Regions from separate parts of the Homo sapiens genome. Here regions 1, 2, 3, 4 and 6 are each linked to region 5. Evidence: promoter capture Hi-C in 16 types of primary human blood cells and fetal thymus (Javierre and others, 2016). All regions are on one chromosome and are shown on one strand. Each heading gives the region's core, a stretch centred on a gene start or on the middle of the fragment in contact. The rest is flanking DNA. Distances are from core to core; before and after follow the strand shown. Region 1 overlaps CCM2 (CCM2 scaffold protein). Region 2 overlaps CCM2 (CCM2 scaffold protein). Region 3 overlaps UBE2D4 (ubiquitin conjugating enzyme E2 D4). Region 4 holds the start of URGCP-MRPS24 (URGCP-MRPS24 readthrough). Region 5 holds the start of NUDCD3 (NudC domain containing 3). Region 6 has its middle 21 kb from the start of TBRG4.

What was found. Contacts are between HindIII fragments. The CHiCAGO score rates a contact against its expected background, and 5 or more counts as called.
Region 1: a contact is called between a fragment that was not itself captured here and the fragment with the promoter of NUDCD3 in region 5, in 1 of 17 cell types (naive B cells). The highest score is 6.7, in naive B cells.
Region 2: a fragment that was not itself captured here is called in contact with the fragment with the promoter of NUDCD3 in region 5 in 1 of 17 cell types (naive CD8 T cells); the score reaches 5.7 in naive CD8 T cells.
Region 3: a fragment that was not itself captured here is called in contact with the fragment with the promoter of NUDCD3 in region 5 in 5 of 17 cell types (total B cells, naive B cells, neutrophils and 2 more); the score reaches 5.7 in total B cells.
Region 4: a fragment that was not itself captured here is called in contact with the fragment with the promoter of NUDCD3 in region 5 in 1 of 17 cell types (total B cells); the score reaches 5.5 in total B cells.
Region 6: a contact is called between a fragment that was not itself captured here and the fragment with the promoter of NUDCD3 in region 5, in 4 of 17 cell types (naive B cells, fetal thymus, total B cells and 1 more). The highest score is 6.9, in naive B cells.

What each region holds. Positions count from the first base shown.
Region 1 is chr7:45,036,514-45,040,675 of GRCh38, reverse strand. CCM2 (CCM2 scaffold protein) reads right to left here. Exons shown (of 10, transcript NM_031443.4): 2 at 2,250-2,423. Among named protein-coding and RNA genes, the nearest start is that of CCM2, 38 kb to the right of the region's middle. The HindIII fragment of the contact is 2,124 bases long and covers 1,355-3,478 here.
Region 2 is chr7:45,016,184-45,020,220 of GRCh38, reverse strand. The region is part of intron 1 of CCM2 (CCM2 scaffold protein); the gene reads right to left. Among named protein-coding and RNA genes, the nearest start is that of CCM2, 18 kb to the right of the region's middle. The HindIII fragment of the contact is 4,740 bases long and covers 2-4,037 here.
Region 3 is chr7:43,955,766-43,960,286 of GRCh38, reverse strand. It overlaps UBE2D4 (ubiquitin conjugating enzyme E2 D4), which reads right to left. Exons shown (of 7, transcript NM_015983.4): 7 at 4,151-4,521. It also overlaps the pseudogene POLR2J4. Among named protein-coding and RNA genes, the nearest start is that of UBE2D4, 32 kb to the right of the region's middle. The HindIII fragment of the contact is 6,737 bases long and covers 1-4,521 here.
Region 4 is chr7:43,905,579-43,909,562 of GRCh38, reverse strand. It overlaps URGCP-MRPS24 (URGCP-MRPS24 readthrough), which reads left to right and starts at 2,967. Exons shown (of 7, transcript NM_001204871.2): 1 at 2,967-3,001. The coding sequence starts at 2,988. URGCP (upregulator of cell proliferation) reads left to right here and starts at 2,967. Exons shown (of 6, transcript NM_001077663.3): 1 at 2,967-3,001. The coding sequence starts at 2,988. RefSeq lists silencers at 2,542-2,701, 2,762-3,191. The HindIII fragment of the contact is 3,554 bases long and covers 797-3,984 here.
Region 5 is chr7:44,488,083-44,491,979 of GRCh38, reverse strand. It overlaps NUDCD3 (NudC domain containing 3), which reads left to right and starts at 1,322. Exons shown (of 6, transcript NM_015332.4): 1 at 1,322-1,571. The coding sequence starts at 1,380. RefSeq lists a silencer at 1,571-1,740. The HindIII fragment of the contact is 1,642 bases long and covers 940-2,581 here.
Region 6 is chr7:45,130,053-45,134,449 of GRCh38, reverse strand. No RefSeq gene overlaps it. Among named protein-coding and RNA genes, the nearest start is that of TBRG4, 21 kb to the right of the region's middle. RefSeq lists an enhancer at 129-629. The HindIII fragment of the contact is 5,554 bases long and covers 1-4,397 here.

The sequences.
Region 1 (4,162 bases), core at 1,167-3,666, 550 kb before region 5:
CCAGTAACTTCTAAGAACAGGCTTCTGTGAGTTGAGGTTTTAGAGACCTGTCTAGTCATCATGACAGGATCCTTTCAATGGGGGGAGTCATGTCCATCAGTCAATTATTCAAAATGTTCTTCCTTTACTGTCTTAATAACTTCTTCTCACTCTTCCCTTCATTCTTTTTTCTTGGGAGTCAGATGTTGAACTTCCTGAATTGGTCATCTAATTTCATTTCTCTTTCTCATCTTTTGTTTATTAACCTTCTTTGTTTTTTGAATATTCTTTCTGGGACTTTTTTTTACTTTTTTTTTTGAGACGGAGTCTCGCTCTATTGCCCAGGCTGAAGTGGCACAATCTGGGATCACTGCAAGCTCCACCTCCTGGGTTCACGCCATTCTCCTATGTCAGCCTCCCGAGTAGCTGGGACTACAGGTGCCCGCCACCGCGCCCGGCTAATTTTTTGTATTTTTAGTAGAGACAGGGTTTCACTGTGTTAGCCAGGATGGTCTCAATCTCCTGACCTCGTGATTGGCCTCCCAAAGTGCTGGGATTACAGGCATGAGCCACAGCACCTGGCCTTTTTTTTTACTTTTATCTTTCAACACCTCTATTGAATTTTTTAAAGATATATAAATAACATAGTTGTTTTGTTTTGTTTTCTTTTGACATACAGTCTCACTCTTTCACCCAAGCTGGAGTGCAGTGGTGTGATCTTGGCTCACTGCAACCTCCACCTCCCAGGTTCAAGCAATTCTCCTGCCTCAGCCTCCCAAGTAGCTGGGATTACAGGCGCCTGCCACCACGCCCGGCTAATTTTTGTATTTTTAGTAGAGACGGGGTTTCTCCATGTTGGCCAGGCTGCTCTCGAACTCCTGACCTCAAGTGATCCGCACACCTTGGCCTCCTAAAGTGCTGGGATTACAGGTGTGAGCCACCGCACCTGGCCTAATTAACAGTTTTAATTCCAGAAGCTCTTCCTCTCACCTTTTTATTTAAAAGTAGAATCCTGTTGTCACTGTCAACAATATTTCCTCTTATCTTTCTGAAAATATTATATACTTTTACATTTCTTCCCCTATTTTCTGCATTGTTGCTGTTTATTCATGTTTGTGTATTTGTCTTGAGCTCTGCCTTTAGGTTGAAAGTTGTCCTCAAATGTGTACTTATACTCAGCTGCCTGTGTTTGAAATGAGGCTCCAAAAAGCTGACAGACGTCGGATGCCTGGCGGGAGTCCTGACTGTTGGAGTTTATTCAGGCTGGTTGGTTGGGTAAACCCAAGGGCCAGTAGGGGCTGCTTAACTTCCCCAATGAGCACCCTTCCAAGAATTCCTTTGTGGGAAAGGCCTGGTTGCAGGCATTCTAGAAGCTTGAAAGAAAAAGGAATTGGGAATTCTCTCCATTCCACATACAGGCTTTGACTTGACTTCCTTATCTTCTGTCTTGGTCTCTCCCCACCTGCCCCTGTACCAGGTTTCTGCACGTCCAAAGCCCCATCTTCCAGTGGGTGGGGATGAGTTAATCATCTGGCTGAGCCAGGTGAGAGTGGAAATCCCTCCCATGGACATTCGAACTGCCCCATGCCCCTCCTGAGCCCCCTGGACTCTGGGTCCTCTGCAGGAACTCGGGTCTGGCTGCATTAGCTCTAACTCATCTCACCCTCAGCGGTTTCCTTCTTCCATGTTTACGGACCACCTCATCCACTGTTGTCTCCTTTCCTATTCTCTCTGACCTCATGGCTTTATACCTTTTTATTCATATATTTTCATTTTAGGGGAGGGATTAAAAATCAACTTATGCACGTCACATGGTTTATGCACAGTATTTTGGCCTCAGGCCTTTGAGACCCAATGATGAGCCTCAAACACATGGTCTGAATTCTAGGCGGTGACTGTTAGACCTGCAAGGTCATGGCCTTGACCAGGTAACTCTTTTCAACTGCAAACTACAGGAGATGTGAGTTTTCTCCCAGCTCTTTAACCCTCTTCTGGTGGAGCAGCACATACTACTCACACAGCCAAGTCTTCGAGAGAAAGAAGGTGGCATTGCTACTACAGAAAAAAATAAACTGGGGTCAGCAGACAGAATCTGGGTTTTCAGTTATCCAATTATTAAATTTATCAGCATAGACAAGACAATGGGTGGGATAATCAACTACTAAGGTGTTTGTGTGGCTGTGTCTTATAAACTCAAGAGTGTCTGGTGGATACAAGCATGACCGTCACTGTCGTTTGGCAGGCACGTCCTGTGGCCCATGACGACTTACCTTTACCTCCTTCTCAATATAGTCGCTCAGCAGTCTGTCTGGCTCGACGCGCTCAGGCAATGACAACACCACAGTGTGCAGAGGGCGCCTCTCTGTCACCTTCTCATGGGCTTTCTTATCTCTACTCTTTTCACCTTTTAGGAATACTCGTTTAAATGGCGAGACAATTCCAGGCTGCAGGCAGAAACGGCAATGATTGGAGTTCATTATTTACAAATGCTTTGTGTTGTACCTATGGTTAACAAACAGAAGTAGCCAAAACTACTACCATGGCCCCCATGCAACAGGGATCACTGACTGCCAGACTGGTGAGAAAGGTACCAACAGCACACAAGCCTGAGGGACCACAGCCAGCACGCAGGCCGGCACGGTGGGGCTGGGCTGCCATGCAGCCTCTGGCATGGAGGCACCTTGTTCTTCACCTGTTCCTACAACACATAGAAGCCAGGTAACCTTATCTGGCAAGACAATGATAGAAGGGGGAGATTCCCCACAGAAGATAAAACATAACATCACTCCAACTCTTTCCAGCTCAGCTGGGACACTTCATTTCTGAGAACTCCAGGAAGGCAGGTGGAAGGTGTGGCCAGTGCTAGCATCAACAAGTGGAGCATATGTTTTTTATGCAATTCTTTCCCCAGTGGGGAACACTCCAAGTGGGGACACTGAGTGTGTTGAGCTCCAATGCAGATCAACAAGGGAGAAACCAGGCCAGGCACGGTGGCTCACACCTGTAATCCCAGCACTTTGGGAGGCTGAGGCGGGTACATCACTTAAGGTCAGGAGTTCGAGACCAGCCTGGCCAACATGGTGAAACCCCATCTCTACTAAAAATACAAAAATTAGCCAGGTGTGGTGGCACATGTCTGTAATCCCAGCTGCTCGGGAGGCTAAGGCAGGAGAATTGCTTGAACCCAGGAGGCGGAGATTGCAGTGAGCCGAGATGCCACTGCACTCCAGCCTGGGCAACAGAGCAAGATACTGTCTCAAAAAAAAAAAAAAAAAAAAGTAGGGGGAGAAGCCCTGATCAGCAGCTGGCCAGCCCCTAACTCTGATGACTTCACACCCTATCCAGCATTTCATGAGGGTTCTGAAGGCTAATCCTGCAATCAAAGTCACCTTAAAGAGTGAGAATCAGTGAGAGAGCAAGAGAGGATTACAGCAAGCCTCGCCTGCAGAACCCAGGAAAAGACCTGACACTTCATTCACAATAACTCCGTAAGAAAGCTTTTCATCACCACCTTTGACAATGGCGGCGGGGGGTGGGGGTCTGGGGGGAAGCAATCCCAAATTGTGCTGAGAGATCATGCTACAATCCCTATCTACAGTCACCCAAAGGAACATAAACCCGAGAAAACAAGACACTGATGTGCAGCCGCAGCAAGGAAACATCACGCAGGCCTGCAAAAACCAGAGCCGTGACTAAGAGTGAGAACTTATTCCCCACCATCTCCTCCATAACTCTCAACAGAGGAAACGCAGGAGGAGATGACAACACTCCTTTTGCAGGTGCCTGCCAGGATAGGGTGACCCAGTGCACAGATGGCAGCCGAAACCCCCACAGTAGGCCAAGCTCAGACCCCCCTTATCACCAAACACAGAAACTAACAAAACATATATACAATAAACCACCAAACTTTCATTAAAAGCTCTCATTTCTGTCTCTCTCCAGCATATGGGAAATTCACCCATATGCAAAATCCAATATAAAACGGTGTAGCAGAACCTGTGGTCCTATAAGGACACCTCCTCAAACCCACCAATTTCACAGACAATTGCAGCCAAGGACTACACTATTCAGTAACCACTCCTGAAAAAAGCAGAAATTGGTCGTCCAGTGGCTCCCAGCAGGCCCTGCAGCTGCCTCCCTAATGAGGCTGGGGTTGGACCCTGCCCTGTATGAGCCCCTCCCC
Region 2 (4,037 bases), core at 1,122-3,621, 530 kb before region 5:
TTGGAATTTATATGACCCTTGAAAGAAGGGAACATCACTGGGCAAGATCCACTTTTATATTGCTTTACTCCTGAGAGTATGCCCCAGTCTCAGAGGAGTGGAGCAGAGAAAAAAAAGCTGCAATTTTATTGGCCTGACAGGTTAAAGGAGGATTTGAGACTGCTAAAGAAGCTGGAAATTGAGAGGGAAATATAGGAAAGGAGGAACCCACTAAAAAAGGAACCCAAAGTCTGAGTATAAGGTCCCCTCAAATCTTTGGCTGAACCCTGAACTGCGTAAGCGGAGGTGAGACTCCCACAAGCCCAGAAAGGACACGATAGCTTGAAGGTTGAAGGAGCAAGCTGATGGCTGGGTGCGGGAGCTCATGCCTATAATCCCAGCACTTTGGGCGGCCAAGGCAGGAAGATCACTTGAGTTCAGGAGTTTGAAACCAGCCTGGGCAACATAGTGAGACCCCATTTCTACAAAAATAAAAATTAGCCAGATAGTGCATGCCTGTAGTCCTACCTACTTGGGAGGCTAAGGTAGGAGAATTGCTTGAGCCCAGAAGTTTAAGGTCACAGTAAACTATGATCACACCATTGCACTCTAACCTGGGTAACAGAGCAAGATCCGTCTCAAAAAAAAAGCTGAGATTTTAGCTCTCCCTAGCTGCAGGGTAGATAAGAGTTTGGAGTCCAAGTCCTGCCAAGTTAAAGGGGCTTAATCAGTACCTTAAACACTTGAGACTATCCATTTGAAACCCCACAAAGGCCACATCTTAGGAGTAAAACATACATTCCAGGACTAAGAAATTTACCCTAAGAGTAAGGACAAAGATCAAAACTGATCTACCAAACCAAAGTATAAAACCCAGCCAGGTGCGGTGGCTCATTCCTGTAATCCCAGGAGGCGGAAGCAGGAGGATGGCTTGAGGCCAGGAGTTCAAGACCAGCCTGAGCAACATACTGAGATTCCATCTATATTTAAAAAACTTTTTTCATTAGCCGGGCACAGTGGTGCATGCCTGTAGTCCCGGCTACTCAGGAGGCTGAGGCAGGAGAATCACTTGAACCCGGGAGGCGGAGGTTGCAAGGTTGCAGTGAGCCGAGATCACGCCACAGCACTCCAGCCTGGCCAACAGAGTGAGACCCTGTCTCAAAAAAAAAAAAAAAAAAAAAAGGCCAGGCGCAGTGGCTCACGCCTATAATCCCAACACTTTGGGAGGCCGAGGCAGGCAGATCATCTGAGGTCAGGAGTTCGAGACCAGCCTGGTCAACATGGCAAAACCACATTTCTATTAAAAATACAAAAATTAGCCTGGCATGGTGGTGCATGCCTGTAATCCCAGCTACTTGGGAGGCTGATGCAGGAGAATCACTTGAATCTGGGAGGCAGAGGTTGCAGTAAGCTGAGATTGCGCTACTGCACTCCAGCCTGGCGACAGAGTAAGACTCCATCTCAAAAAAAAAAAAAAGAAATTCTTAAAACTGTCAAATAAAAGACATTCAGTACAACAAAAATGACAGGTAACTTCTCAAGAGAAAAAATGGATGCCAGAAGATAATGAGTCTTCATCTTTAAAATGCCAAAAGAAGCTGGGCATGGTGGCTCACGCCTTGGGAGGCTCAGGCAGGCAGATCACTGGAGGTCAGGAGTTGAAGACCAGCCCCATCAACATGGTGAAACCCCATCTCTGCTAAAAATACAAAAAAAAATTAGCTGGGCGTGGTGGTATGTGCCTATAATCACAGCTACCCAGGAGGCTAAGGCAAAAGAATCACTTGAACCCAGGAGGTGGAGGTTGCAGTGAGCAAGATCACGCCACTGCACTCCAGCCTGGGTGACAAAGCGAGACTCTATCTCAAAATAAATAAATAAATAAATAATAAAAAATGCTGAAAGAAAACAGTCAACCTAGAATTCTATATCCTGTAAAACAGAGGTCCCCAGCCCCCAGGCCACAGACTGGTCTGGGTCCGTGGCCTGTTAGGAGCCAGGCCGCACACAGCAGGAGGTGAGTGGAGGGCCAGCAAGCATTACCACCTGAGCCCCGCCTCCTGTGAGATCAGTGGCTGCATTAGATTCTCATAAGAGTACAAACCCTGAACTGTGTGTTGGAGGGATCTAGGTTACGCACTCCTTAGAGAATCTAATGCCTGATGATCTGATATGGAAGTTTCATCCCAAAACCTTTTCCCCACTTTGGTCTATGGAAAAACTGTCTGCCACGAAACCGGTCCCTGGTGTCAAAAAGGTTGGGGACTGCTGCTGTAAAACTATCCTTCAAAAATGAAGATGAAATGAAGGTATTTTCAGATAATAAAAGGTGAAACAATGTGTCAGACCTACACCATGAAAAATTCTAAGCAAGGTCTTCAGGCTAAGAACTAAAAATAAAATCCTAAGCACTCCAACTGACTGAACAAAGCCTGTTTTGGTTCCAGCCATGACAAGATGCCTTGGGACGCACCTCATTATATTCCCTCCCTTTTGTAGTTCAGGCACAACTGACCAGCATTAATGTTAAAATAGAGACCACAAAACTGACAGAATGGACTCTGTGGCAATAAAATACCAAATTACATGCGTTCATGAAGATCATGGGGAAAAAAAGACACCAAATTATAAACAAGACCTACGACCGTGCCAGGTAAGGATTCAGCCACACAGTCTGACTCTTCAAGATCAACTCTGTTCTAACTGCCACAGGGTTCTTCTTTTTCTCTAGCAGCCAAACAAGCACTGTCCTGGATAAGCAATAGGAAAACAACTGCAACTCACCACCAGATGCCAACTGACCTCCTGTTCCACAAGCCAAAACTATAGCTGTGACTGTATAAGAGACTGACTTCAGTAACTCTCTCCTGACAAGAAGACCACCAGCCACAGACTGGTTCTAGCCAGTTTATAGAGGCTGTGCACTTGAGTGCCCTGTCTCCTTGCTTCACCTTTTGAGGTATGGGGCCTGAATATAATGTTGTCTCCACCTCAAAGTGAACATGGAATGCAAAGAACATGCCTGTCTGGAAAAAATAACTGTCAGATACTACGCTTAGTACCTGGGTGATGAAATAATCTATACACCAAATCCCCATGACAGATGTTTACCTATATAACAAACCTGCACATGTACCCCTGAACCTAAAAGTTCTTTTAAAAATGAATGTTTGGGCCAGATGCAGTGGCTCACGCCTGTAATCTCAGCACTTTGGGAGGCCGAGGCAGGTGGATCACGAGGTCAGGAGATCGAGACCATCCTGGCTAACATGGTGAAACCCTGTCGCTCCTAAAAATACAAAAAAAATTAGCCAAGCGAGGTGGCTCACGCCTGTAATCCTAGCACTTTGGAAGGCCGAGACAGTCAGATCACTTGAGGCCAGGAGTTAGAGATCAGCCTGGTCAACATGGTGAAACCCTGTCTCTACCAAAAATACAAAAATTAGCCAGGCGTGGTGGTAGGCGCCTGTAATCCCAGCTACTTGGGAGGCTGAGGCAGGAGAATCGCTTGAACCTGGGAGGCGGAGGTTGCAGTGAGCCAGGATCGCGCCACTGCACTCCAGCCTGGGCAACAGAGCAAGACTCCATCTCAAAAAAAAAAGATGCATGTTTGGGCCAGGCACAGTGGCTCATGCCTGTAATCCAGCACTTTGGGAGGCTGAGGCGGGTGGATCACCTGAGGTCAGGAGTTCAAGACCAGCCTGACCAATATAATGAAACCCCGTCTCTACTAAAAATACAAAAATTAGCCAGGCCTGGTGGCATGCGCCAGTAATCCCAGCTACTCAGGAGGCTGAGACAGGAGAATCGCTTGAACCCGGGAGGCAGAGGTTGCAGTGAGCCAAGATCGCGCCATTGCACTCCAGCCTGGGCAACAAGAGTGAAACTGTCTCAAAAAAAATAAATAAAATAAAATAAATTGCATGTCTGTTCAGTACACATGCATCAGGACCCCCTCCATGAATATTCATAACTCCTCCTATAACCTGTTGAATATGTATATACTTGGTCAGCACAAACCCATTCAGCACAAATTCCTGTTCCAACCCCTCCTCCTC
Region 3 (4,521 bases), core at 1,037-3,536, 530 kb after region 5:
GTTTGGCCATCAGTCTTATGGTACTTATACCGTCTTCTCTTTGGTGAACATACCTTTTTTTCTCTTCTTTGTCTGGGAATACTCCTATTTAATCACCTTCTAGTTGTCAGGTTCCTTCACCCGTTTGGCCACCAGTCCCAGGTGGAAGCCCTAGGAGGTCTGGGAGCACTTTTCAAATTTTAGTCTACCTGAGGAGAAGCTACCCTTACCTGAAACCAGGTTGTGCAGGCCAAAGAAGCAGGTCTCTGTGTTCTGGAATTAGATCAGCTCAGTGAGGTGACCAAGCTCCATGTAGAGAAGACTATAAGGAGGAGTCTCTAGTGGTGAGAAGTTTGAGGGAGCATGATACTGCTTCCTGTTGCAGTGTATGGAAACCTGTTTCAGCTTGATAGGCCAGGGAAAGCCTTAGAGGAGGTAACTAACCCTGGAGCAGAGACTGGGTTCTGAGGTAGGAGCCAGCTTAATTGGTCTGAGAAGTGGGACACAGGGAGAAGGAGAGGCCAAGGGAAGGGCTTTGGGTTTTATTCTATGTGTAATGGAAACCCTGATGGGTTTTAAAGAGGAGAGGATGTGGCCTGCCCTATGTAGACCCCCTCGCCCTTATCCCTCTCATGCTCCCATTTTTCTTGTTTAAGTTTCCTGTTGGCTGTCCTGTAACCACTCAATGGGTTCTTCTTTCCTGTTGCTCAGATACAGCTGATCTATCAAGATCAGAGAAAGAGTATAATACACATAGAGCCAGCTAAATGGGAGACTAGAGTTTTATTATTACTCAAATCAGCCTCCCCGAAAATTTGGAGGCTAAGATTTTTAAAGAATAGTTTGGCAGGCAGGGGGCTAGGGAATGGGTGCTGCTAATTGGTTTGGGGTGCAGTCATAGGGCTGTGGAAAATGGTCTTCATGTGCTGTCTGCTTCTGGGTGGGGCCACAGGAGTCTAACTGGGGCCATCCAGTTATCAGAGATGCAAAAGCCTGAAAAGACATCTCAAAAGGCCAATCTTAGGTTCCACAATAGTGATGTTATTTACAGGAGTTATTGGGGGAAGTTGTAAATCTTGTGACCTTTGGAATAATGGCAGTAATCATTTAACTACAAATTCAGGCCCCTCTCATCCTTCTAACCTGGTGGCCTTTCATTAGTGTTACAGAGGCAGTTTAGGTTTGTGTGTTTTTTTTGTTTTTTGTTTTTTTGAGATGGAGTTTTGCTCTGGTTGCCCAGGCTGGAGTGCAATGGCACAATCTTGGCTCACTGCAGCCTCCGCCTTCTGGGTTCAAGTGATTCTCCTGCCTCAGCCTCCTGAGTAGCTGGGATTACAGGCATGCGCCACCACACCTGGCTAATTTTGTATTTTTAGTAGAGATGGGGTTTCTCTATGTTGATCAGCTGGTCTCGAACTCCTGAACTCGTGATCCGCCTGCCTCGACCTTCCAAAGTGCTGGGATTACAGGCGTGAGCCACCGCGCCCGGCACTAATTTTTTTTTTTTTTTTTTTTTTGAGACAGAGTCTCATTCTGTCACCCAGGCTGGAGTGCAGTGGCACAATTTTGGCTCTGCCCCCCCAGGTTCAAGCGATTCTCCTACCTCAGCCTCCCGAGTAGCTGGGATTACAGGCGCACGCCACCACACCCAGCTAATTTTTGTATCTTTTTCGTTTTTTTGTTTTTTGTTTTTTTTTTGAGCCAGAGTCTTGCTCTGTTGCCCAGGCTGGAGTGCAGCGGTGCAATCTTGGCTCACTGCAACCTCCGCCTCCCAGATTCAAGAGAGTCTCCTGCCTCAGCCTCCCGAGTAGCTAGGACTACAGGCACACACCACCACACCCAGCTAATTTTTTGTATTTTTAGTAGAGATGGGGTTTCAGTGTGTTGCCCAGGCTGGTGTCGAACACCTGAGCTCAGGTGATCCGCCCACCGTGGCCTCCCAAAGTGGTGGGATGACAGGTGTGAGCCACCATGCCTGGCCCGTTAATTTTTGTATTTTTAGTAGAGATGGGGGTGTTGCTATGTTGGCCAGGCTGGTCTTGAACTCATGACCTCAAGTGATCTGCCCTCCTTGGCCTCCTGAAGTGCTGGGATTACAGGTGTGAGCCACCTCACTCAGCCTCTTCTTAATTTCTTCACTGTCCCCTTGATCTTTCAGGATGGTGTTGTTTAATTTTCATGTATTTGTACAGTTTCCAGAGTTCCTTGTGTTACTTACTTCTAGTGCTTTTTGTTTTTTTAATTTAGAAAGAACAGAAATTTGTTTCTCACAGTTCTGGAGGCTGCAACATACTGCTTTTTATTCCATTGTGGTCTAATAAGATACTTGATAGGATTTTGATTCTTAAATATTTGTTGAGATTTATTTTGTGGCCTAACATATGGGCTATCCTGGAGAATGTTCCATGTGCTGATGAGAATATGTATTCTGCAGCTGTTGAATGAAATAGTCTGTAAATGTCTCTTAGATTCATTGGTCTATAGCGTATTTTAAGTCTCATGCCTCTATGTTGATTTTCTAGACCATAATCTGTCCAATGCTGAAAGTAGGTGCTGAAGTCCCCAACTTATTGTACTGGGGTCTATCTCTCTCTTTATCTCTAGTAATATTTATTTTATATATCTGGGTGCTCCAGTGTTGAGTGCATATATATTTACAATTGTTATATCCTCTAGCTGAATTGATCCCTTTATCATTATATAATGACCTTTTCTCTTTTTGTTTTTTGACTGACTTAAAGTCTATTTTGTCTGATATAAGTATAGCTAGTCCTGCATGCTTTTAGTTTACATTTGAGTGGAATATCTTTTTTCATCCCATCACTTAGTCTGTATGCATCTTTTTAGTGAGTTCCTTATAGGCAGCATATAGCTGGATCTTGTTTTTGTTAAATTCATTTTACAAAATTTATTTTAGAGACAAGGTCTTGTTTTGTCACACAGGTTGTAGTGCAGTGGCAATCATAACTCAGCTGCAGCCTTCAACTCCTGAACTCAAACAACCCTCATGTCTTAGCCTCCCGAGTAGCTGGGACTACAGGCACATGCCACGAGGCCCAGCTTTTTTTTTTTTTTTTTAGAGCTAGTGGTCTTGCTCTGTTGCCCAGGCTGGTATTGAACTCAAGCGACATCCTCCTGCCTCAGCTTCCCAAAGCATGGGGATTACAGTTGTGAGTCACCATGCCTCGCCTGGATCTTGTTTTTCTAACCCACTCAGCAAGGGTATTATGTGTGTGTATATATATATTTTTTTAATTGTATTTTTTTGGAGATAGAGTCTCACTCTGTCACCCAAGCTGGAGTGCAGTGGCATGATCTTGGCTCACTGCAACCTCCACCTCCCGGGTTCAAGTGATTCTCCTGCCTCAGCCTCCTGAGTAGCTGAGATTACAGGCATGTGGCACCATGCCCGGCTAAACAAGGCTATATATTTTAATTGGGAAGTTTGAACTCTTTACATTCAAGGTTGTTATTGATGAGTGAGGACTTATTCCTGTCATTTTGTTAATTGGTTTCTGATGTTTTATATGTCCTTTGTTACTTTCTTCCTCTTGAAAAATTTTTTTCCTTTCCTTTTTTTAATAAGAGACAGGGTCTCACTATGTTGCCTTGGCTGGTCTCAAACTCTTGACCTTAGGCAGTTCTCCCACCTCAGCCTTCCAAAGGGCTGGGATTACAGGGATGAGCCACCATGCCTGATCCCTTTCTTATCTTTTGCGATTTGGTGGTTTTCTGTGATGATAATGCTTGATTTGTTTCTCATTCGTGTATCTAGTCTATCAGTGACTTTTATACTTTCACATGGTTTCTGTCTATAATTCCCTTTTCCTCCTACCATATCTTGCATACCGTAAGTGCTAATCAATGCTCTGATGCCACTTAACATAACTGGAAAGTGACTGTGATGATTGGCTAGCAGCAAGTCTTTCTCAGAAGACCAGCCTTTTGAGCCATTGTGGGTGGGCTGGGGGACAGCAGGGTTGAAAGACCGGCTATAAGTGGCAGCTCTGCTGTTGCCCTCCAACGTGGAGCCCAGCTGCGCACCTGCCTTCAAGGGGAGCTCTGATGCAGGCAGCTGGATGCCTGCAAGCACACCTGTCTGGGGCAAGGGAGAAGATAAGAAGGACAGGAAGGAAGTAGATGTATTTTTAAGGAAATCATTGACTTCTGATAGGGTGTTTTGCAGATTTTTTATAGCTTTTGTTTTTGTTTTTTTTTAGAAAGTTTCTCTGTCATCAGGCAAAGACCAGGGTGGGAACAGGAAAACTAGAAAACTGGTCAAGGGAGAACAAGTCCCTTTTCCTCTCACCAGTGAACAGCAGGTGAGGAAACAGACTCTGGGAGGAACGCTGTTCAGGATGGCTTGCTGCCTGCATGGCATGAGGCTGCTGTCTTGTGGGTGCTGGCAGCCACAATCTCCATTTTTCTGAAGACCACCATTTATGGCTAGATCCAGTAGAGGTCCAGAACTTTCCCAACACTGCTGGAGAGGAAGTGTTTCACAGTCAGAGGAGAGAGCCATGGGGAATGGAAGCAGGGGAA
Region 4 (3,984 bases), core at 1,324-3,823, 580 kb after region 5:
GTAGAGATGGAGTTTCACCATGTTGGCCAGGCTGTCTCAAACTTCTGACCTCAAGTGATCCACCCGCCTCGGCCTCCCAAAGTGCTGGGATTACAGGCATGAGCCACCGTACCTGGCCTAAAATACTGGTTTTTAACCTATGAAGTTGGCAATGATTTTGAAAAATTGTAAAAGTTACACAGTGTTTTGGAAAACTAGGACTATCAGGTGATTGTGCTGGGAAGGCAATCTGTATATATGTGTGTATATGTTGTGTATGTGTATATTTGTGTGTCTGTATATATGTGTGTAGGTATATGTATACATATGTGTGTATGTGTATTATGTATTTAAGTATATGTATATTAGTGTGTTTGTGTATGTGTGTAGGTATACACATACACATACACAGAGTATATATGTTTCAGAAGAGCCTTAAAATACTGATATCCTATTGATCTAGAAATTCAACTCTTCAAAATTTGGCATAAGGAAATAATCATTGATGTTTATGGGATGTTTTGGCTATAAGGATATTTATTACTCACATTCCTTATAATAATGAAATACTGGTAGCAATATTTATGTCCAACAGTAGGGGTTGGTTAAACATGATGGTCTAACCATATAGTGGGATGCTAAAATTCATGTTAAGTGTACGGGCCACGGGAAAGTTTCTCCTTGCCCTCTGAAGATTTACTGAAAAATCAACTCACAAAAAGCAGATTAATTGAAGAAAAGGCATACAAATTTTATGAATGTGTGCACAGGGAGAATTACAGAATGATTTCCCACCACCCAACAAGGTTCAGAAGCTTGTAGACCATCTTGGCAAAACAACTTACAGGAGGGGAGAAAGAGGAATTCTTTCAAGGGGCAATAAAGGATTACTAGGGAGAAGGAATGGATCAGGGCACAGAGATTAACTTGTACGCTATCCTATGAAAGGGTCTTTTCAGGTGTGGTTACATTCTTGGTCTTACAGGGAGGGCAAGAAAAACAGTTGTTCTCCTTGGAGGGTCTGGACTTTAAGCAGATAAAGACATTTTCTGTTTTGGGAGAAACCAGTGGGGAGGGAGATCAGAGAGACCTTGAGACTTCTTCAGTTCAGCTTGTTAAAGTGCCATATTTTGGGGTTATTGGTTTCTGAACCAGATTTTATGTCAGTAAACATGTATTCCTTATGTTTAAAAGAATGCTTATTTAGGCCAGGCATGGTGGCTCACGCCTGTAACCCCAGCACTTTGGGAGGCTGAGGCAGGCAGATCACCTGAGGTTGGGAGTTTGAGACCAGCCTGACCAACATGGGGAAACCCTGTCTCTACTAAAAATAGAAGAATTAGCCAGGTGTGGTAGTGGGCGCCTGTAGTCCCAGCTACTGGGAGGCTGAGGCAGAATTGCTTGAACCCGGGAAGTGGAGGTTGCAGTGAGCCAAGATCTCGCCATTGCACTCTGGCCTGGGTGACAGGGCAAGACCCTGTCTCAAACAAACAAAGAAAAAATTCTTTTAGTTTGATCTCCTTCATTTCATTACTCCCTTGAATCAGGCATTTAGGATTTAGGATTTCCCATTCCTCAAACTCTTCCTAACTCTGGTCCTCCTGGATTTGTCCTTATTTTGGGTGTCACAAGTTCGCGTGGCTTTACCTATCAGCTCCCATTTACAGAGCATTAATTATCTTCTGAACTCAAGGTAGCAGTTATGAATTTCTTTACCGAAGAGGACAAGGAGGCTCAGAAACATTGACTGGATTCTCCCAGGAGGAAAAGAGACCATGCATCACGCAATGTTTACTAACATTTAAAAATAGTTACAAATGTTTACAAATATTAATTCATTTAATCTTCACAGAGAGGAAGGGACTTATTTTTAGCCTTATTTTTCAAATAAGGAACTGTGGCCCTGGAAAGGTTCTATCTTGCAGGGGCTCCTGGGGCTGGTAATTGGTGGAGCCCAGATTCCAACACAGGTATTCTGGCTTCAGAGCTAAGGTTTTAATCACTGCTTTGCTGTCTTGTATTCTTAATAGTAGTAAACATTTTTAAATAGTGGTTGTTAATGATATTTTACTTTTAACTTTAATTTTATTTTTAAAAATGAAACGGGCGGGGCGGGCAGGGGGTCATCTCAATATGTTGCCCAGGCTGATCTCAAACTCCTGGGCTCAATCGATCCTCCTGCCTCGGCCTCCCAAAGTGGTGGGATTACAGACGTGAGCCACTGCGTTCGGCCAGTGATATTTAATATAATACTAAAAATGTTATCAACAATGGTTTACATTGTCCAGAGCTTTTTATTAAGCATTTTCACTTAGATCATTTTTGGAAACTCATTTTGCAGAGAGAAGAACTGAAGCTGAAAAATCTACCTGCCTAAGGACTCATAACTTGTAAGAATAGTTGTGAAACCTCACTGGAGGAACTGCAGATTCATTATTTTTCTTAATAACACACTATAAAGAATAATAAAAGTGCTTCGCATTGCCTAGAGCTTCACAAGGCCACTTTATACACATTTTACAATGGGTACCGTCTCAGAGAGGCCAGCAACTCGTCCAACACAGCACTGCAAGTAAGAAGTAGGAAAGTTATTGTTTTGCTTAATAATAAGGCCTTACGCTTCAGGGCTAAAGAAAAGCCTTTTCTTACAGAAATTAAACTCCAATTACAGAAAGGTGTGAAGTTCAGTAAGGCCCTGGGGCAGGTTATCCTACAGCTTTTGGCACCGCAGGCACCGCCCGGCGAGTTCCGGCCTCCAGGCACCTGGGCAGGTGGGCGTTGGGCGGGCTGCGGGCTGACCTGGGCCGCCCCGCCCCCACCCCGCCCCAGCTGTCCCCGGGCTGCTCCGAGAGGACCCCGGGCCCACCTTACCCCACCTCACCCCACCTCCACCCCTGGAGCGCGTCCCGGAGCGGGCGGGCGGCCGGCGGGCCAGGCCCCTCCCCGGCGCCGAGCCGCGGCCGCGCGGAGGAAGCGAAGGAGGCGGGAGCGGAGACCTCGCTGCGCTCATGGCGTCGCCCGGGTGAGTGCCGCCTCGCAGGCCCTGCGCCCCCGCGGCTGCCGGCAGGAACGGGAGCGGGACCCGGAGCGGCTCTGGCCTGCGGGCTCTGGTCTGGGATGCGGCCCGGACCCGGCCAGGGGCGCCCCCGCCCGCCAGGCCCACCAGGCCCACGGCCCGCTCGCGCCGACCTTGGGCGGACCGGCCGCGCGGGCGTGGGGGGCGGGCGGGGGCGCCGGCGGAGGACAGCGGTCCCCCGGGATGCGGGGGTCCGGGTACGCGGGCCTAGGGGATCCGGGGAGGGCGCGAGGCCCGGAGGTGCCCGGGGCGCGGCGGGAGCGAGGGCCCGGCGAGCGGCTGGGGAACCGGGGTGCGGGTCCTCGCCGCGGCCCGGGGCAACCCGCGGAGGCCTGGAAATGCTTCGCTCCGGCGCCTGGTATCGATGTTCCTGGGTTTTAAACTTGCTCGCGTTGGGAGTGGACGCTTGTTTGCCGCGTCGTTGAGACGTACCCAGAATGTCAGGATCCGGGCAGATGCAGACCCTTTGCTGACAGCCGGAGAGCCGCTCCGGGATCTCCTTGGTCGGGGCCATTGCCTACCGGCCTGCCTTGGGGTGGCTGCGCTTATTTTGATATTACCTCTTTTCAACTTTTTTGATTTAAATGTTATTCCTTTTAGGAAATGATGGCGACACATATAGTTTGTAATTTTTGAGAAAAAATTCTCACTTGGCAAACTAAAACCTCAGTAATTCATTATTTTTTTGTTTTTTGTTTTGATAATTTTACTAGTACTGAAATTTGGGAATGACAGTCCAACACTTTCATTTTACAAAGAAAGAAATTAGGCTCAAGGTCATCGCTTTAGTTGTTAAAATTCTTCTTTGACTGTTACCCATCATTCAGAGGGTCTTGGATCTAGTGGCTGTGATAGCCATTCAGAACAGTTCCCAAAGAGCTTTACAGGTGTGTGTTCAGTGGTAGGGGTGGGGAGGGGACGGTGCTAAG
Region 5 (3,897 bases), core at 73-2,572:
CTACTGTGCCGGCCAAATCTTGCTGTCTTCTAGTAGGCTCATTAAAGAGATTTGCAAAAATGTAAAACTATGTTACTCCTCTCACTGAACTTTTATTGCTTTGAAGAACATTATTTTTTGCATAAAAGTATGTTAACATGTAATGTGTTTTATGGTCATTTAAAAATGATTAAATAAATATTTAAACATTTTATGTTTTAATTTCTAATGTGGTAAATATTGATAAGCATAACCCATATCAACAAATGTTCTTTGGAATGTTCAACAAATTTTAAGAGGATTAATGGTCCCTAAATCAAGAGTTTCAGAACCACTGTTCTAGGGCAATTTACCTGAGTTGGATTTTATTTACAATTCATTAAAGCTTATACACTATGAAGACATGTTAACTTGCATGTTTTAATCTAGAAGAGGTGCAAATCATTTCTATACACTAGAAATGATAATCTATGGTTTTATCATCTTGTAGAACACCAGCCAGCTTTGTATCCAACCTAATCTTACTCTAATGCTTTGTCAAAATGTTTAATCTCCACTTCCTCAAAATGCTTTTGAACCAGCTTTACCATATCATTGTTAATTTGCTGAAGAAATCTTGGATATGTGTTCATGATATATTTGTATGAGTGTCATGCTTTTTACTTTTTTAAGATTATACTTTGACAGACACTAACAACATATGTATATATGACGTATATATGTATATACATACTATACACACACATACACGTACATATTTCACAACGATGGCATACGGATTCTCTATTCTGAATCTAGCTCTTTCCACTTAATATACGTTGAATGCACTCTTTATTTTCTTCGTCATCTTGACTTTCTTCTGATGCAACGCCCTGAGTTTAACTCACAGATCTGTTAATAAGAAACCCATACATCCCACATATACGCATTTTCCCGTCTCTGGCTCACTAACAAAAAGCTTACCCTAGCCCCATCTTTAACCATAGGTTCCAAATACCCAGGCTGGAATTCAACACAGAAATAAGAAAGGATCCACAGACAACGTGACAAAAATCCGAGCAGTCACGTGACACTGCACGCCCCATAATTTTTTTCCGCCCGCTTCAAACATGGCGGTCAAGCCCTCGCAGCGCAGCAGAAGCCACGGGCTTCCTTCCGCGTAGGAACCTCCTTGCTGCCCTTGTCGGGCTCTTTTGTCTAAGACCACCTCAAGGCAAAGCCCGTGGGGCAGCTGGGTCTGGGGAAAACAGCCCGGGGCCGCGGGGGCCGAACGAGCACGGACCGGAAGTTCCGCAGCCGCGCCGTCCGGCGGAGCCGTTGGCTGCGGACGCCGGAAGTGGCCAGTCGGCAGGTCTGAGGCGGCGCTGTGTGTGTGAAGCGTACCTAGGGCGGGAGGCGACATGGAGACAGGGGCGGCCGAGCTGTATGACCAGGCCCTTTTGGGCATCCTGCAGCACGTGGGCAACGTCCAGGATTTCCTGCGCGTTCTCTTTGGCTTCCTCTACCGCAAGACAGACTTCTATCGCTTGCTGCGCCACCCATCGGACCGCATGGGCTTCCCGCCCGGGGCCGCGCAGGCCTTGGTGCTGCAGGTGAGGCGGGCGGGCCTGCGGTCTGGGGAGCCGCCGCCCCCGGCCTGCCCTGACTCCTGGCGCCCGCTCCTCCAAGCTCTCCCAGCCTGTTTCCTCCTTTTCCTGGTGTCCTGGGGTTGAGCTTGTGAGAATGGCTTCAGTAATTTGAAGCGCGGATTGGATGTCAGCTTATTCCGCTGAGGTGTTCGCTCCGGACGTCCTGAGGTTTCAGAAGTAGTAAGCCGACTGTTAAGAGCCCTACTCAGCACCCGCCAGCGCGTACCCCTCACGGTGCTGGGGGCCGCTAGTCAGGGAGCGAAATCCATGCAGGCCAGACAGAAGGAAGGACATTTACAGCAACAGAAACGTGCATGCCCCAGAACTACCAAAGACTTGAGCTGGCGGGGATGACGGAGGCATTGTGTTGATCAATGGGTGTGGTCGCTTGTTTGAAATGTGACTTCCCAGGTCAAAGACTGTCAATGTAGTGCTTATTAAAATTTCTATTTGAGCTTAATTCCGTACCCTCCAGGTTAAGTTTATTGTATGTTGGAAACGCTGTCAATACTCATTCAGTGAAGTTGACTGGGCACTTTTGAATGTAGTGGTAAGCAACCTTTTGCTGAATGTAGTTTACACTCTTAGTTGCCGCAGGTGAGGGTGATACGGGTGTTTAAGTAATGGTTTCTCTCTCCTTGTGACACAGTTAAAGAGAGAAAACCCAGAAAGTAATAGAAAACTTTTTAAGGGCAATTATTTGATGGAGCCCATTGTAAAGAAAGGAAATAGAAATGATGGTTGAGAAGTGAAGTTTTTATAAGAGAGGTGGGACTTCTGATGAGATTAAAAGAAACTATTCAGCCAAGTATTAAGCCTATTTGTAGAAACCCAAGAAGATAGAAATGCTGATGATACCTCCCTCAGTTCTCTAGATGTTACAGTTTATAAAATGCTTCAGATGTTTCCTCCTGAAGTCTTAATGCATGCTGCAGGTTGGTAAGATGTTACTTTCCTCAGCAGAAGCCAAAGCTTTGAATGTCTTGGTAGCTACCAGGGTAATAGGGCCAAACGAGGAATGGGGTTCCATTAGGATTCAATTTCAGAACTTAAGGCTATTCCTCGTCCTTGTCAGTGGCATAAGTGCCATCTTAGTGATGAGAGAGCTGTTGGAGGTGGCCTTTAGCAGGATCTTATGGCAGGTTAATGAAGTCTTGCCATTTGATCTTCAGTGTCTCTGTGAAACAGATAAGTTTCAAGTTTACGTACCAATTCAGCAAGGTTAAGTGATTTGACCAAGAACACACAGCCAGTTCACCGTAGAGCTGAAACTAAAAATTTCATTTTGTGGATTCCAAATCTTCCTGTTCTGTTGTTTAACCATTCCATAGTAGGATGAGAACACTTTTGTCTAGATTGATTGTAGTTTGCAGAAAGATGTGGAGGAGAAAGGAGTATATACTGAGTAATATGTATAGTATCAGATGTTTTATATTCTGGGGTCGTTATCTTATTTAACCCTTAATATAACCTGAGAGGTTGGTCTTTGTTTCACAGATGAACTGACAGAGCACTCATTAACCTGGTAACTCATTTACCTGGTAACACCTCTTACAAGACACTTCCATAGGTTAGGATTTGGTGACCAGTCTAATGAAGTAGTGGAGATGGGGAGCAGGGATGGAGGAAGGGGAGGGATGGGTCAAAGATGATCCAAGGTTTCAACTTGGGTGACTGGAATAGTGATAATGCGTTAACTGAACTGTCACCTGGGTTTAGGGGAAAAAGTTCAGTTTTAGACAGGTTGAACTTGAAGTTGCAGGTAGGAGTCCCTGCCCATAGGCTATTGGAATTACTGGACTAGATCTTTTGGGAGCTAGAGCAACTGGAGTGGTCCGAGGGAGAGAGAAGAGCCAAAGGTGAAGAACAGGCCTTGGGGAATAATCTTGGTGGAGAGCAATAAGTTTCACAGAAACCAAGGGGACAACAGTCTCCAGCAGATGCTTAAGAGAGGTGTCATGTTTTCTGGAAGTGGTTCTCAACCATCAGCATCGCTTAAGGAACTTTTTTCTTTCTTTTTTTTTTTTTTTTTTTCCTGGAGATGGAGTCTCACTCTGTCGCCCAGGCTGGAGTGCAGTGGCATGATCTCAGCTCACTGCAACCTCCGCCTCCTGGGTTCAAGCAATTCTCCTGCCTCAGCCTCTCGAGTAGCTGGGACTGCAGGTGTGCGCCACCACGCCCGGCTGATTTTTGTATTTTTAGTAGAGATGGGGTTTCATCATGTTGGCGAGACTGGTCTCAAACTCCTGACCTTGTGTTCTGCCTGCCTCGGCCTCCTAAAGTGCTAGGA
Region 6 (4,397 bases), core at 617-3,116, 640 kb before region 5:
GGGCCTTTCTAAAACGTGTCTGATCCTGCCTTGCCACCCTGACCCCTGGCCTGGCCCCCATGGCTCTCCATGGTCCAGCCCTGCCAGCCTCCCCAGCCCTCTCCCACCTCAGTGTTGGAGAAAATGACTCCCCAAAAAGACCCTGTTTCTCTGCACCTGCCAGGCTGCATGATATCTCAGCCTAGGACCATCCATGCTCCTTGCGTCCTTGTGTAGCGCTGGACTCTTCTGAAAGCTCGGGGGCGACTCCCTGTCAGAAGCCTCGCAGCTGGGGAGGAGCCTCTGTGGGTATGCACCTGGGGTCTGCATTTCATGTGCCTGTGCCCCTGGCCACACACAAGTGTTAGCAAATGGACCACAAGTGAACAAGCTGGACAGAGATGACACCATGAGGCCTTAGCCACCAGGGCTGCGCCCAGCATCCTCTGCAGCCCTGCTCTACCTGCTGTGGTCCAGGGCAGAAACAGAGCCAGTGGGACATCCAACCCACCTGCCAATGACCACAGGCCCATGAGGCCCACGGTTCTGCTAGGTACAAGAGAAGGGGCAGAGGGCCCACTGCAGCCTCACAGCCTTGCAGCCCTGGAGTAGGAGGTGGCAGTAGAGCTTTGAAAGATGGGAGGAGAGAACTTTCTAAGCAGGAGCTAGAGGCAGGAGGTGTAGCAACTGTATGCAGGGACATGACTTGGTGAGACAGGAGATGTAGGAAGGGTGTCAGAGCAGACAGACCATGATGAGGGCAGAGGGCTGAGGGCAGGACCTGCACCCAGGGTCGGGACCCCTATAATGAGAGTGAGACCTTCACCGAAGGGTCATGACCCCAATGACAAGGACAGGACATTCACCCAGGAGTCCTGACTCTGATGACAAGGGCTGAGGACCTGCACCAGGGTTGTGACCCTGATGACAAGCATGAGACCTTCACGTGATCAGAGGCCGTGACCCTGATTGCAAGGGCTGAAGGCAGGTCATGTACCCAGGGCCTGTGGCAGTCACCACAAGACCAGGACACACCTGTGGAATAGCATGGCCTCCTCCATCCCTGTCTTTACTCAGAGTTTTGGAGAAAATCCTGACCCAGCTGACCCCATAGGACCAGGAGTGGGGACAGTGTGCTCCAGATGACCACAACCCGGGGCCTCATTTCCCCATCAATCCTGGGCACACAGGAGCTGCTGGGGAGTGAAAGAGCCTGTGCATCTTAGAAGATGATAGGCTGGAGCCAGGCAAGCCAGGGGCCAACAACCTTCCCCTGGGCGCAAGAAGAACCCTACATTCCTTGCCTCTGGGGCTGGTGAGCCTGGAGGAATGGCATTCCTGGAACCCTCTGGCTTCTCCATTTGGCCCTGAGGGCTCTAAGGGCAGCTGTGCACCTAACCCGAACTCCTTGTCCTGCCAACACCTCTCACTCCTCCCCACTGCCCCCCACCAGCCACACAGAACATGTGTTCCCTCCTGGCCCCCCGGGCCCCAGCTCCCTCTGGTAGTTGGAATAGGTCTCATTATTACCCCATTTTACAAATGAGGAAGGAGTAAGCTGCTCAAGGTCACACAACTAGCACAGCCAAGACTAGATTCACACAGGCATGCACTCAAACGCTTCCTCTAGGCCACTTCATTCAAGGTCATGAAGGGCATGAATGCCACACCCCAGCATTTGGACTTCTCCCCCCAGGTAATGGGAAACCGCCGAAGAGTTTCAGATGGGGTTGTGATAGGATCATGCCCAGGCGTGAAAGGCCATGCTGGACAGAGCATTGACAACTAACTGGAAAGTGGGGAGGCCTGATATAGTCTTCCCTCCCTCCATCCCTGCCTCCTTCCCTCCCTCTCCCACCTCCTCCCTCCCTCCTCCCCTCTCTCCTTCCCTCCCTCCCTCCCTCTCCTCCTTCCTCCCTCCCTTCCTCCTTTTTTCCCTCCCTTCCTTCCCATTAAAGGCTAATGCCCCAGATGCTGCAAATGTGCTGTTCAACAAGATGAGAGAGGTCCTGTGCTCTGGAGGACAGTATACAGGACATCTCATGAACAAATCAGATCGTCTGTAGTCAGACAAGTGTGTTAAGGCGGTTGTTGCAGTGGCCGATGCCACAACAGCCCATCCCAGGGCAGCAGCCCAGAAGAGCTGACAGGAACACACTCAAGAGGGTTTTGGAGGGGCATCCACCAGTGGCCCAACCTCTTGGTAACTGATTAGATGGAGAAACACAAAAGGGAGGCCCTCCAAGTCTCTGGCTGTGAGGAACCATTCCCAGGGAAAGGAGATGTGGGAGGAGGCCAAGTTCTGCATTGGCAACAGTGGGCAGATGTGGGTCCAAGGCCTCTGAAGGCTGAACAGATGGGCGTGCTCCGGACCAGGCAGGGCCCTGGTTGTGCCTGGGAGCTGCTGCCAGGGATGCAGGGGTGGGGGCTAGGGCAGGGGCTCAGGGAGCGTGGGCGGATGCTTCCCACAGGATGAGGGGAGGGGAGAGCAGAGAAAGGGGATAGTGGCAGTGCCATAGACATTCCCTGAGGAGTGAGGACTATAGAGGGACAAGAAACAGGAGGGAGGCTGGGGGAGCTGGGGTGCAGGGGCAGTTTGAAGGAGGACTGCAGAGGCTGGACACCACTGAGAAGGAAAGACCCAGCCAACCTGAGCTCATGGAACTAGCAGTTACTTTACGCGTAGAATAATTTTATCTGTAGGAAAACAGCCCTGGGATTTCCAACTTCATATGAAAGTAGTAGGGGATTGGCCAGGCGTGGTGGCTCATGCCTGTAATCCCAGCACTTTGGGAGGCTGAGGCGAGTGGACCACCTGAGGTCAGGAGTTCAAGACCAGCCTGGCCAACATGGCAAAACCCCGTCTGTACTAAAAAATACAAAAATTAGCCGGGTGTGGTGGTGGGAGCCTGTAATCCCAGCTACTCGGGAGTCTGAGGCAGGGAGAATTGCTTGAACCCAGGAGGCAGAGGTTGCAGTGATCTGAGATTGCACCACTGCACTCCAAACCGGGTGACAGTGAGACTCTGTCTCAAAAAAAAAAGAAAGTAGTTGGGGTTGAAACAACACGATGTTTCAGATTTAAATTCCAACAACAACACAAACAATAGTAACATGAGTCCGACAAAATGTTGACAAGGTTAATCTAGACCATCGGTCTGTGAGTACCTATTGAACTATTATTTTTACTTTGCTGTATGTTTAAAATTATCATAATAAAAAGTAAAAATAAAAGCCTCCACCATCACCCATCGACCTATCTACCCAGTGGGCAGGATGAGCGTGTCTGCTCATGAGGTGTCGGGGACCAGCCCTGCATACCCAGGTGTGCCAGCAGGGACTGGGAATCGGGCCAGATGCTTGGAGGACACTTGGGCGGGGCCTCCCATGTGGGCGAAACATGGACCCTTTGGCCCAGCATCTCCGCCTCTACACTGGTACCCTGCAGAGCTCCCTGCCCACATGCCGAAAGCTGGGGTCTTCTGTGGTAGCAAAGAATCAGAAACAACCTAAATGTCCATCAATAGGAGACTAGCAATTATGTGGACACATCCATACCGAGGGGACTAAGCCGCCACTCAGAAGCAGGCGTGTGTCATTAAAACCCAGCCAAACTGAGCTCACAGAACTAGCTCAGTTTGGCTGAGCTAAATGGATGTTCCCCAAATGGAAAAAAAAAAAAAAAAAGGAGGGGGAGACAGTGTGCACATAAGTCGCATTTCTAAGGAGAACGGACCTGCACATCCATACTTGAACAGGCTTGATCATCTCTGAAGAGAGTAGGAAATCAGCCTCCAAAAATGAGAACGGGGGTCAGGGCCAAGTGGGAACGCCACTGCCCCCTGCCCTGCACCGTGTGTGTTGTCATCCTTGCATGCCTGTGGCTTTTCTTCCAGAAATAGTAGTAATGAAGGGAATAAAGGAGCGCAGAAAGGGGAATGGAACTGGGCCTGACATGACTGGGGGTGCTAGTGGTGTTGGAAGCAGCCTCGAACTGGCCGCCTGGCCCAGGCAGGAGAAAGGTCATCCCCTGAACCCAGATGACAGGCAAGAGAAAGATCATCCCTAAGTCTTCTTAAGTCTAAGAAGACTTAGGGATGAAGAAGACTAAGTCTTCCAGAGGGTGGGCACAGCCTTGCTGACAGCCTCGCCCTCCTCTCTGAAGTCGAAGTAGGCCATTTGCTGCTGGGAGTGGGAGGTGGGGCTCCAGGGCCCTGAGAGCAGACGAAGGTCGTGGAAGAGTCCCTGGGGGAAGCAGGGAGGGGTTGGTGGGTGTGTGATGGGAGTCGTGCCCCGGGGCCCAGGCAGACTCTGAACGCAACAGCTTTGGGGCTCCACAGAGTGAACTCATCGGAAGACGTCCACTGGCCAGGCAGAGGGTGGCTGGGGAGAAAAGGGGAAAGCGGGAGCCTGGAGCC